Linked DNA regions of Homo sapiens: region 1 is linked to region 2. Evidence: promoter capture Hi-C in human tissues and cell types (Jung and others, 2019). All regions are on one chromosome and are shown on one strand. The core of a region is centred on a gene start or on the middle of the fragment in contact, and the rest is flanking DNA. Distances in the headings are between cores, read along the strand shown. Region 1 has its middle 30 kb from the start of COPS8. Region 2 holds the start of LRRFIP1 (LRR binding FLII interacting protein 1).

Evidence for each region. The method cuts DNA at HindIII sites, captures the fragments that hold promoters and counts their contacts. A contact is called where the count stands out against the background at its distance.
Region 1: a contact is called between a fragment that was not itself captured here and the fragment with the promoter of LRRFIP1 in region 2, in 2 of the 25 tissues and cell types used here (IMR-90 fibroblasts and mesenchymal stem cells).

What each region holds. Positions count from the first base shown.
Region 1 is chr2:237,112,773-237,119,161 of GRCh38, forward strand. No RefSeq gene overlaps it. Among named protein-coding and RNA genes, the nearest start is that of COPS8, 30 kb to the left of the region's middle. The HindIII fragment of the contact is 5,497 bases long and covers 60-5,556 here.
Region 2 is chr2:237,623,519-237,630,144 of GRCh38, forward strand. LRRFIP1 (LRR binding FLII interacting protein 1) reads left to right here and starts at 4,069. Exons shown (of 24, transcript NM_001137550.2): 1 at 4,069-4,222. The coding sequence starts at 4,127. The HindIII fragment of the contact is 12,440 bases long and covers 1-6,626 here.

The DNA.
Region 1 (6,389 bases), core at 1,558-4,057, 510 kb before region 2:
CCAGAAAGCAAGGAGGAACTTAAAGAATTGGAAGACATACTAACAGGACACTAGAGCCAGCTTGAAAGGGGATCTGTCTGGCCAAATTAGGGACAGATTGAGCATCAAAATAAATGATAGTTAAGGATTATAACCTGTTCAATTACATAAGAATTCATTATTCCATATGGATATAAACAAATAAATAGCACTGAAGAACAGTTCCAACTAACAGATGTAGAATGAATGGACTTGTAATATCACCACTGGGAAACCATAATGATAATAATTAATACAGGAAAGGTTCATCAATGGACGTTAAACTAGTGGGTTAAAGCTTGGGAATTAAGAATATTTACAGACCCAAACTCCCTTCCCACAAGTATTTTCTAAAGAAGAATATACTAAAATTTTAGTGGATGACCCTTTTAACCAAGTTAACTTTACCAGTAATGAGTCACTTCAGCATCATGTGCTTTCTACTACAAACCACTGAAGAGAACACATCAATTCTGTGGTATCCATGTCCAAAATGTAAATCCTGAATCTAATAATGAAGAAGCATCACACAAACCCAAAATGAGGGATAATTTACAAAAACAACTATCTTGCATTCTTCAGGAATGTCAATTTCATGAAATACAAAGAAAGATTGAAAAACTATCCAGATCAAAAGAAACTAAAGAGGCACAACTCAACGCAATGCTATAACGCGCATGATTGGAAAATTAGCAAAATCAGAATTAACTCTGTAGATTAGATCAGGAGTTGGCAAACTATAGCTTGTGGGACCAAACCAGGTCAATGCTTATTTTTGCAAATGTGTTTTTGGAACACAGCCACACCCATTGATTTATGCATCATCTGTAGCTACTTGCACACTACAACAGTGGAATTCAGTAGTTGTAACACAAACTGTATGTTCTTTAAAGGCTAAAATATTTACTATTTGACCCTATGTAGAAAGTTTTCCAGCCTTTGGATGAGATCATTTTATAGTACACTGATTTTCCTGATTTTGTTGATTTTACTGTGGTTGTAAAAGAAAGTTTCCTTTTAAGAACATAAACTAAATTTAGAATATATACATATATATAGTTTTGTATATATATTTATATATATTTTTGTTGGATGTATAGGTCAGTAATACTAGAGCCAATTTTATAAGAAGATGATTTCATCAATGAGAACACTTAATTCTCAACATTGTTTGGCCTTCATATTATTAACATATACGACACATTCATTACATGTAGTAACACTTGAAAAAGTCTTCTGAAGATTTTCATCGTCCCTACCCTTGATTGAGAGTTATTAAATTAGAACCATTTAAAAATAAGATGCCTCCAAACTTGTAACTATTATTGTCCAGTATGTTAATCCTAAATCTTTGAAATGTTCATGTAGGGGAAAAGATACAAATTAATTTTAAACTTTAAGTTAAATGTGCATGCTAAAATATAAGGTTAACATCTATTTCTGCTAATATAGTTAATTAAATGTCTGGAGAAAACCTCCCAGTCTAGAACAACTAAAACGCTATTTAAAGTATTAAAGTTATTTTTAAATATACATCGATGAGCTGACAGTAAAATAGGGACATTCTCAAAGGCCAGAAACAACTATACTCTAGCACTGGAGCCACCAATCTTGATGGCCTAGAACCTCTGTTATTTGGGGCCACTGATATGAAGGGCGCAGGAGACAAAACCTTATATTTGATGAGGTAAGTAAGATCATTCAACTCACATACAGTAGGACATCTTAAAGATAATGCCTTGGAAAGATGAACTAGAGAAAAATCCTTCCACTCTAGAAGATTCTGCAGTAGGGGAGCAAGTAAGAAGTAATGGGAAGGGGATGTGAGTACACAAGTCTGTCTTCAGAAGGTTGTCTGGAAACAAAAGCAAATACCTGGCAATATATTTAGCTCAATGCCTGAATGAATTGCCATAGATAGGGTTCCAAGAAAGATGAGTTCACAATCCAAAACTAAACAGTGCATAATAAGCCATTATGAATAGGAATCAGCATAAATTAAAAGCCATAGAATTAAAGCCTCAAAGACATTGGGTGTGAAATTATAATTATGAAAATGTTTTATATGTTTAAGTATGTTAAAGCATGTTTAACAACATGTTTATTTTACGAAACTATTTAAGTGTATGTTTAAATAATTTTTTCAAATATTTTTAAAAGTCAAGACATTAAAATATGAAGAGTGAGCAAGAGACATCAAAACATGCCTGGCATATATGAAAAAGAATTAACTAGAATTTCTCCAAAAGAAAAACAAAATTAGGATTTCAATGGGTGGGCTGTAACTGCCTATTTTCAGATTTAAAAGTTTGTGGGTACAGCAGAAATTTATTGGTCAGTGAAAATGGTAAATTTGATAGCAGATCCAAGCACGTACAATTACAAATAGCTAATCAGGTGACCTAGACTTTCATAGCTCTTACCTCTGTTGTACCAACACCTCTCTCTCAATTCACATGTATAGTTTTATTGGAGGTTTCTTCTGACTTGCTGATGGAGGAAGCAAAAACCCAGGCCTGATTCACAAACAGGTCAGCTTGACATGTTGATACAAGCCTAAAAATGCACTCCTGCCATATTTCAAGCCCACTCAGTGGTGGACATAAAGGATAGCAGTGAGGGGAAATACTCCAAGTGGACAGATTTTTGAGCCGTGCATTTGGCCATTCACTTTGAACAGAGGTAGCAGCAGCCAGCAGAATGAACTTTATTTATTTATTTTTTGTCTTTTTTTTGCATCTGTTTCTTTTTATTATTATACTTTAAGTTTTAGGGTACATGTGCACAATGTGCAGGTTAGTTACATATGTATACATGTGCCATGCTGGTGTGCTGCACCCATTAACTCGTCATTTAACATTAGGTATAAGACAGTGGCAAGTGGCTAGGCTTGTGTATCAGAGGCCTGAAAGGAGAAAGATCAGGAAATTGGAGATAAAGAGGTCTGGGAAAGAGATCACGAATGGACTTGTAGGAGTGGGCGCACAGTAAGTAAATCTATGTGTTTCACATCAATGCCCACCAGAGAACACTCACCAGACCGGGAAAAAGTCATCTATGAAGTGGACAAGTTAACTTGTCTTTTGCCTGTGGGCCAGGCTGTCTTCACTCATCCCTGTGTTGGCACAATGTGTCCATAAATAGAGTCATAATAGTAGCAGGAATGGGGTTTACACATGGGCCAGGCAGCGTGAGTTCTCCATCACCAAGGCTGATCTTGCTTCTTCCTCTGTGGACCTGGAGTCAGTGCAGAGTGATGTGAAGCCGTCAACTATGACTGTTCCAGAAGGAAACTAGATACCACTTGGCAGCACTGAAGATACCAGTAGTTGGTTATATTGGCCCCTTCTACCATGGGAAGAACAGCGTCACATCCTTACTGGAATTGGCACCTACTCCAAGTATGGGTTTGCCTTACATGCACTGTGAGTGCCTTCTCCAGCACCACCTTCTAAGAACATACAAAAGTCTCATCTATTAACAATAAATCCTACAGAGCATCACGTCAGTCCAAGAGACCCATTTTATGAACAGGGAGATGTGACAATGGGTGCATGACCGTTTCATTGGTTTTAAGTTTTCCTTACACAGAAGTATCTAGCTTAATAGAATGGTGGAATGGCCTATTCAAGGCTCAGCAATTGTACTAGCATGACGGGTTGGCATGCTTTCTTCCAAGAGATGGAATATGCACTAAACTGAGCCACAACCAATATGGAGTTAGGTCCCCAACAGCTAGATGCAGGGGCATGAGAAGAAGCTCAGTTTAATGTCCTCACATAATTCCCAGAAATCCATTTGCAGAATTTTTGCCTTTCATCTCAGGTTATAAGAACATTTCTCACTCTCTACTTTCTGCAAGTTAAACTCAGAGCAACTATCCGTAACTGATAAGGAACCAGATGTTTTACAGCCCTGTAAAATCAAAGTTACACTCCCTGAGAGAGCTCAATGAAGGTCAACTGGGCTTATTAAAGAAATTGTTCAGAAAGATAACAACAATCATTTTGACATTTTCCAAGTTTTGGATAAATAATTTTTAACACATGTCATAGAAGGAATGTTTGCAAAAGGAAAGGCTATTCAGCATGAGAAGAAAAGATGGGTGGGGATGATGATTGTCTTCAGATATTGGACTGACCACCATGTGGAATAATTTTGTTTATTGCTTCAGAAGGCAAAATCAAGAAGGTTAGAAAGACCAGTTTTGACTCAACACAAAGAAGAGCTATTTAACTGCCTAGACCAGCACTGTCTAATAGAGTTAGAAGACACACCTCACATATGTAACTTTAAATTTTCTGGATGCCACAGTAAAAAGGTGAAAAAGAAAAACAGATAAAATTAATTTTAACAACAATCTTATTTAGCCAATCAAAAATATTATTAGTTCAACATGTCATCAATACAAAAATATTAATGAGATATTTTACATTCTTTTCTTTATACTACATCTTTGAAATCCCATGTGTATTTTACATTTGTGGCACAGCCCAATTTGGACTTCCACATTCCAAGTGCTCAGTAGCCACACAACTTGTGCGTATCAGTTGGTGATGGTCTAGATGGTCTCAGATAGTGTGAGGATCCCATCAGTCAGATACCGTTGAAGCCAAGTTCAATAACCACTGATCAAGGCTGTTTTGAAGGAATGTTCAGGCACTGGTTATGTTAGGACAGTTACCAGGACTCCCCTCCCCTTAACCTGTCTCCACCTTTTATAGCAAAAGCAGGAAGAACAGAATTCCACCTGATAGCATCCATCCCCACTGCCCCCATCCATCCAAATGATAGCAGCAAGGGCAAATACACCTCCTGGAGAGATTAGCAGTTTTCCAGGAGTCTTCTAGCTTTTAGTGTGTCTGGGGGATTTTTACAACCCACAATTAAACTCTGCATTGAAAAGCAGGGGGAAGAAAGGCATCTATTGCCTCTTAGCTGAGCAGCCCATGAACTGGAGTAAGTACCTCCTTGTTAACAAATGCCATGCCTGGATTTCCTCTCACCTGAGAACCCTTGCTATCACTGCAGTTGGAGAAAGGTAAGGGTTTGCCGTTTTGCTAGAGTCAATAACTTTTGAGTAATCTGCATCATATTTGTGGTTGAGCAAAGTAGTAACTTTCCTCTGAATTTGTTGCTTCTCTAAGTAAAGGAAGCTTTCAAAATTAGTGGAAAAGATTGTGTAGTTTTATCCAAATATCTAAAGACAAGCTAAAACCAGGGTGGACATTTTATTCATGTAAATGATTGATGACATTCTCCTGGGTCAATTGAGATAGTGGGAAGCCAGGAGTCTTTGGACATCTTTTTAAGAAATGAGTGGACTTGAATGAGCATGTTGTGTGCACCCACCTGACCAGCATATGTGCATCCTGAATGTGAATCATGATTTTTTCTCCTGGGTGGAGCTGCAGGAAAAGATTTCATTCTAAATGAAAGAGGAACTGGACCATTTTTAACTTGTGAGTCACATGATGGGAGGAATTGCCAAAAACAGTTTTGATTGAATAATGTTCTCCTAATTGTGCACCTGCACCTGATCTCTAAGAAGAGCAATTCAGGACAAAGGGCAAAATGCCCAGTGCATAATAATGCATAAGGTAATAAGAACCTCTTCATGGCTATCCTGTGTCGGTTAAATAACATGGTTTGAAAACTGAATTAGGTTGTTTGTGAGGTTGGGCAGTGAATGAGGTCAATCGAGTAAGGTCCAAAAAATTCCAAATCCATTTGGGAGCCTTAAGCCTGTTGGATGTCTCCCCTTATAACCCTGATTTTTAGCAGACTGGTGAACAAGATTTTCAATGTATTTCTGTCATAAAATACAAAGAATGTAAATGGAAATATGGGAGTGTGGCCTCAACTGCCTTAACTTTGCCTGAGGCAATTTAATATGGACCAACTTCAAAAGATTAGGAAGCTTTAGTTTTCAACATTATCTTACATTGTCAACATTATCTTGGCTAAATGTTTTGATGCTGCGTCTGGTGTCTTTCATGTGACTGGAGCTGTGGATGTAGATGCAGGAATCTGTGCAGGGCAGCTTTTCTGTATTTCCACCCATCCCTTCCTCAAGATAGCAGAAGGGCTCTGACAAGGAAAACCAAACACATGGGGTTGATGCTGTGTTTGAAAACCCTCTTGAGTTGAGATGTGTAAAGCATGTGCTTAGCCAGAGCCAAACATCTGCTTGATTCTCACTCCTCGCTGTCACCCGGTGTCTTGTTGTTTACAATGTGCTGCCATAACTCACTTGGTGTGTAGGGTCATTCCTACCACTTCATTCCTTGAATGTCCGATCACCATCACTGCTGGCTGAAACGCAGTCCCTTCAAAGGCTTAAATAAGTCTTTTCTAAGGGCCGAAGAAGT
Region 2 (6,626 bases), core at 2,819-5,318:
CTCAGACACCCTACCCTGGAGACACCAAGTCCAGAAGGTGACTTATGCTAGTAATCCACAGATGAGGGATAAGGGGGACCAGCTGCAGAGCTTGGTGGTATCAGCAAACATGCCAAAGGAGGATCAAAATGATCAGATAGAGATGAAGGAAAAGACCAGCTGGGTATTTGATCAGATTTAGTAGAGAAAGGAGAAAGGATTTCAAAATGGTTCCAAGGTTTTTACTCCAAAAAACATGAAAAAGTTACTGGAAGTGATGGTGTCCTGGGAAGGAAGAGGCATTTATTGGGGCAGGCATCATCCACTGATTTATTTTGGAAGTGCTGTGATTGAGCTACTGAAAGATGCACCTGAAAACGTCCAGCAGGACAAAGGAGACACCATTCACCTCCTGAGCAACACATAGACCCTGACCTCAGCCAGCCCCACTTCTGGGCAGAGTGCTGGCTCCAAGTTCCATGCGTGAGAGATGGCTCTCCTCTACGGGTCCTTCAGCATTCCTGGGGGGGGGCTGCAGTTCTCCTGCCCTGCTCCAGCTGTAATCCAAAGCAGGGCTTTCCATCCTCTGGGAACTGGAAGAGCAAGGCTGGAGTGCTGGTGAAAGAGGTTTGAGGTAGGCCCACGCGGATGATGCTCTCAATGGACCCAGAGTGAGTCACGTTATGGCCCACATGATGGCTCAGATGGCTCTCTGCCTGAGAAGCTCTGAGTCCTCATGCAGACTGGACGCCCCTCCGTAGCTGCTCATCAACTTCCTTTCCCAGCCAGCCCCCAGGGCTTGCCCACTGAGCTCCTGAACCAAGGCAAACTTGCGCTGGGGACGGCGCCGCTGTGTGGTTTCCCTTGCCAAGGCTTCCCTGGCTGCCTCCACTTTCTCGTGGAGGCTTCCTGAAGGTGGCATCTGTATTTTTGTGAAGGGACTTGGTACCAGGCTTGGAGATGAACATGTTAATTCTCTGGCCCTGGACATCAGATCTGTGATATAGTTTCTCAATTTCCTGCTCTGAAGTAAGCCCTGGTGGGTAGTGTCACCATCTGGAATAGGAAAAGGGCTAGATGGGAGGGGTCAGTAGTGCTGGTGGCAGAGGCCAGTCTTCTCAGTGGAAACAGGCTCATGCACTTCCACGCAGGGAGGGCCGACGGTCAAGGGTGGAGGAAAAGCCACAATTTTTCGGTGAACCCATGGATCAGCATGATGGAGTCTTGCAGGTCTTTATCTTCCTCCAGGAGGCACCCCAAGCACGGAGAAGACCCACCAAGCTGCCTGATACCTCTGTCTAGCTCCCCTCTGCCCAGACAGGAACTGCTGTTCACCATTCATTCCAGACCTGGGCCTTTGAGGACAGGAGCTGTAAGGATGATTGATCGATTGCCTGTGTGTGAAGCCCTGGAAGGGCTCTTGCCTAGAATACTGTCCCTACCCTGACAAGGTAGAGGCCATGGTCTGGATGGCGGTGGCCCCCCCATTCATATGTCAAAACCTAACCCTCAATGCAAGGTGGGGCCTGCAGGTGACCAGGTCCTGAAGCAGAGACCTCATGAACGCGATGAGTGCCCTTACACAAAAGCCTGGAGGGAGCCCGTCTTCCACCATGAGATGACACACAGAAGGCACCATCTGTGAGGAATGGGCCTCAACCAGACACTGATTCTGCTGGAGGCTTGATGCTGGACTTCCCAGCCTCCACAGCTGTGAACAATACATTTCCGTGGTTTTATAAATGACCCTGTCTAAGGCGTTCTGTTACAGCAGCACAAAGGAACTAAGACAGTGGGCACCCGTATTTCCATTTAGAGGCGGAAACTGACTCTGAAGTGAGAACCGGTCCACTCTGAGAGCACATCGCCAGGGGAAGAGGACTGTAGCCAGGAAGTTGTTATGTCATGGGGTCATGGGAGGACCCAGCAATGTTGTTTCTGATGATTTCTGAAAGGCGGCTCTTTTCTGGAAGTGGACAGATGATGGGGGAGGGGCAGGAAGCTGAATTCACCACAGTGTCCGAGAACACTGTCTACCAGCGGGAGCTGTTCAGACACACCTCTGGCCAGTCCCCACGGCAGTGAATCTCCTGTCTCTGGACAACAATCCAACAGGGAAAGTGGGGAGGAGGGTTGGGAACTGAACTCTGTTCCACAAGTTCAACCACTGCACTCCACTAAGCAACTGGCACAGCCAGTCCCTGGTGAAGGCTTAAAGATGAGGAAGATGGGGTCAGCGCCTGCCCTCCTGGCCTCAACACATCAGGATGGAGGATTTAGGTGTTAGCAAAAAGTGGCTCAAAGTTCCAATGAAGGACAGGGAGCAAAGGGAGACTTCTTTTAGAAAGGAGACGTTGGAACTTGGATATGGCTTTAGTTAAGGAGCTCCAGGCATCTCAAGTCAGCCCTGAGAGGCAGCAGCCGTGTCTGCCTCTCGGACAGCTATGCCCCAGCCTCCAGCTCAGCAGCTGGCAGGCAGCAGGTGTGGGTGCAGGAATGAGTGAACTCATGGGGACCAGCCTCGGCAAAGACGCACAGTCCCCACAGTGCCCCAGGGGCTGGGAAACAGTGAGCAGCCACCAGCAAGACCAAGGCAGTGCAAGTGGCCACGGCTCAAGGTTTCCCCCAAGGAGGACTATGTCACTTAAGGAGTATGGCCTCTGAAGTAATGTAAATATGGCCTGGAAGATTCAGTCAACACCTATTTCCTTAGTGCCTACAATGTGCAGGTGCAGTTTCTGCTCCCGGAGTTCAGTCATGAACAATGCCACAGTCAGCCCTGCCAACCCACCTGCGTCAGCTCAGGCACCCAGAGCAATGTCACCTGGATCTGCCCTCCCTCCCATGTCACTGGACTCGCTGTCTTTTCCCTGCAATGAAACCTCCAACAGCTTTCCCTGCCACTGTGGGTGGAAGGGCCCTCTTCCTCTTCCCACCTTCATACAGCTTCCAGGCCACCTCCTTAAGAATCCAAAGCAATCTGGTCACACCACTTGGTGGGAAATACACCGAAATGTTAACTGTCCTTATCACTGGGGGAAAAAAATCACAGGTGACTTCAGTACAGCCTCCTCTCCTCTACCATCACTACCCTCCCTCCCATCCTTCCCCAGGTCCAGCCACACTGAAGTTCTCCCCATACCCCAAACACACCAGTAACTTTCCCACCCGGTGCTCCTGCCGTGCCCTAGGCAGGGGCTTTTAACCCCTACCTAATCCTCCGATTTGCTTTACTTTTAAATCCACCTCTGGAGCATAGACTGTGAGCTTCAGAGAGCACAGGTAAGTTCATTACTTTTTCAACAACTAGGAGAGAGCTGCGACGCACCTGCCCCGATCCTAGAGGCTGGGGACCCACCAGAGAAGTGACAAGTCCTTGATCTCAGGGGGCAGACAGCGGGGAGAAGGATGGATGCTAGCACGGAGAACACGCGTGTAAAGACAGAAACGCACACATCCACACCATGCCGCTGTGAAGCCGGCGCCCAGGAGGCTGGCCAAGGTCACAGGAGCGGCGGTGGCGGGCGGATCCGAGCACCTCTCGGCCTGACCCCAGAGCCTAGCTCTCACCCCGGCGAGGGACTTCCACCCCGACTCACCGCGGAATGGGGAGCGCCAGGCTGAACCAAATCCTGTGCTCACCCCTCCGTGCAAACCCCTCAAGGCAACTCAGGCCTCTGAAAGCCTTCCTACCCCCCCGCTCTCCGCTCAGGTCCCCACTCAACCGGTGCCCACCGCCCTGGCGCGCGTCGCTCCGCGATTACCGGCCCGCCAAACAGTCCCCGCAAAGTCCACCCTCCGGGGCTCCCGGTCCCTCAGGTCCCGCGTGCCCGGCCCTGGGCATCCGCAGCGTCCCCGTGGTATCGGACCCCCATCGTCCCTGACACCTGGCGTCTCCGCCCCCCGCCCCCGTCCCCCGCCCCGCCGTCCCTGGCCCCTGCAGTCCCTGGCCCGCGCTGCGGACCTCCGGCTCTGGCTTCCCCCGGGTCCCCGCGGCCCCCGTCCCCCCGCGTCCCCGCGTCCCCGGCCCAGCGCCCGCTGACGCCATGACGCCGCGGCGGAGGGAGGGGCCGGGGCCGGGGCCGGGCCGGGGCGGCGCGAGCGGCTGGAGCAACGGGCCCCGCGGCAGCTGCGGGCGACGCGGTCGATGGACATGGGCACCCAGGGATCGGGGCGCAAGCGGCTCCCCAACCGGGAGCGGCTCACGGCGGAGGACGACGCGCTCAACCAGATCGCGCGGGAGGTGAGCGCTCCGGGAGGGCAGCCGGGGGGCGCCGGGCGGGCGCGGGGGCCGGACGGCTGTCAGGGTCTCTCCGGCGTCCGTCTGTCCCGCTGTGCGTCTGTGCCACTGCGCGTCCGGCTCCAGGCGGGTGGGCCGGGCAGGCGCGCGCCGGGGCGCTGATCCCCAGGCGCTGCGCCCCGGCCCCGATCTCCGAGGCCTGCGGACCCCGCACCCGTTCTCCAGCCCCGGGCCCAGCCCGCGACGCTGCGCGCCCTCCCCCACCCCGGCCACCGTCGGCCGCTGCGCCCTCGGGAGAGGAGCCGGGCGCCGCCAGCGCGCGAGGTGGCCCGGGCTGGCCGGGTGGGGGCGAGCGCCCCGCTTTGTTGTGCGGCATGGGAGGAGGCGGGGGCTTAGGCCCGACCTGGAGGCAGTGGACGGTCGCCGGAGGCCACATGGCCCTGCTGAAATGGCCGAGTCGCTCAGGTGACCATTTGTCATCCATCCATCGATGTCACTCAAGGTGCAGCTCAGAGATGAACTTGGGGATCACTGTGATTTTTCTTTCAGGACTGAGCCTGGAAACGGGTCCAGGCACACTGAAACGTCTTCATTAAAGTTTCCTGGACAGAGTTTATTGTAACTAAGATCATGTTTGGTGATGAACTTTACCTGTGACAAATTGAAGGCGCACTAGAATGGGTATTTGTACAAATGCCTTTTTTTTTTTCCTTCCGCAAGGATTCTACCTTAAGGCTAAAGAATGTACATGACATCCAGAAAGCCGTACAGGGACAGAGAGCAGCAGCTTGGGAAAAGGGGAGCCAATAGGTTGCGGCCCCAGGGGGACAAAGGAAGCTTAATTTTTGACTGTGTTCCCTTTGTACCATTTGAACTGTGTGCCAGGTGGGTGTATGAATGCAAAGAAAGTCTCTGCCTTGTAACCCGCCTTACAGGTTCTTTTCCGTGTTGGCTTTTCCACATGTGATTCTTCCCACAGGAAACACCTCCAAGCCATTTGGACTGTGGTGTCTGGCTGTATCCGTCAGATATTCTGGGGGATCTACTCTGTAACCAATCCTTAGGTGTTTGTAGTTGTAAATACCTGATTTTGCTCTTACGGACATGTGGCAGTCACTCAGTATTTGTTGACTACTGAGTGAATAAAGACTTCTGTTTTTCTCTGTATGATACAGAAAAGGGCTTTCCAGGCAAACCCTTATTCATTCCTGGAAGCCCACTGTGACCTCCAGGAGACCTTCCAGACTCAGCCCTCTCACATCGCACCAGGCCTAAGTCTCCCTGGCTCCACGGCCCTCCATGGCATGCCCGCGCCTGGCATGGCAGTCAGGATACCTTATCATTATTTGTCCACCTGTAGAAGGTGACACCCAGACAGGAAATATCTTACTTTTGTATCCCAAGAGCTCAGCACAGAGCCAGGCACATACTAGGTGTTTGTCTATGTCTGTTACATTAATTAATAAACAAAAGAAGTACAAGGCATTTAAAGGACCTTTGGCTAAATATAGACATTTGCTAAATATAGTAGCTTGAGTATAACTCCCTCCTGTGAAGACAGTCACTTATGTATGCATTTGACCACAGTGCCTTACAAGTGTTCCCTGCAAGGGCCAGAGGTGGCCAGTGAATCGCAAGCCTTGTCTTGATGTCAGTGGTTATGGGGCAGAAGAATGAGAAGAATGAAAATTTCCAGAGTTTGCCTTTTATCCACTGGTGTTTCTTTCTTCTTTTTTTTTTTTTTTTTTTTTTTTAACACAGTCTCACTCTGTTGCCCAGGCTGGAGTACAGTGGTATGATCTCGGCTCACTGCAACCTCCACCTCCCAGGCTCAAGAGATCCTCCTGCCTCAGCCTCACCAGTAGCTGGGATTACAGGCACGCACCACCACACCCGGCTAATTTTTGTATTTTTAATAGAGACGGGGTTTCACCGTGTTGGCCAGGCTGGTCTCAAACTCCTGGCCTCAAGTGATCTTCCCGCCTTGGCCTCTCAAAGTGCTGGGATTACAGGCGTAAGCCACTGCGCCCAGCCTATCTGCTGGTTTTTATAAAATAGATTGAAAAGGAAGGCAAGGGAACACTCCTTGGGTTGAGAGCCCTGAGGTCCTCCCTCCCACCGAGGGAGATGCAGTTGGAGTTACAGAGATAGACTTGTGAGTCAGAGCTGGGCTTTCAAATGACATAGTTCTTAGCCAGCTGTGCCATCCTAGGAAGGTGAGTTACTCACTCTTCTCTGGGCCTCTGTTTTCTCGTCTCTAAAATGGAGAAGAAGAAACCTCCCCTGGCTGTCAGAATTAAAGAAAGTGGGTAGCAATGTAAAGTATGTAACTAGGCGGTGGGTAAATATGAGAGCTTCTTACACGCCCCTCCCGGTAAAACCCAGCCGTAGGTGCAGCTGTTACTAG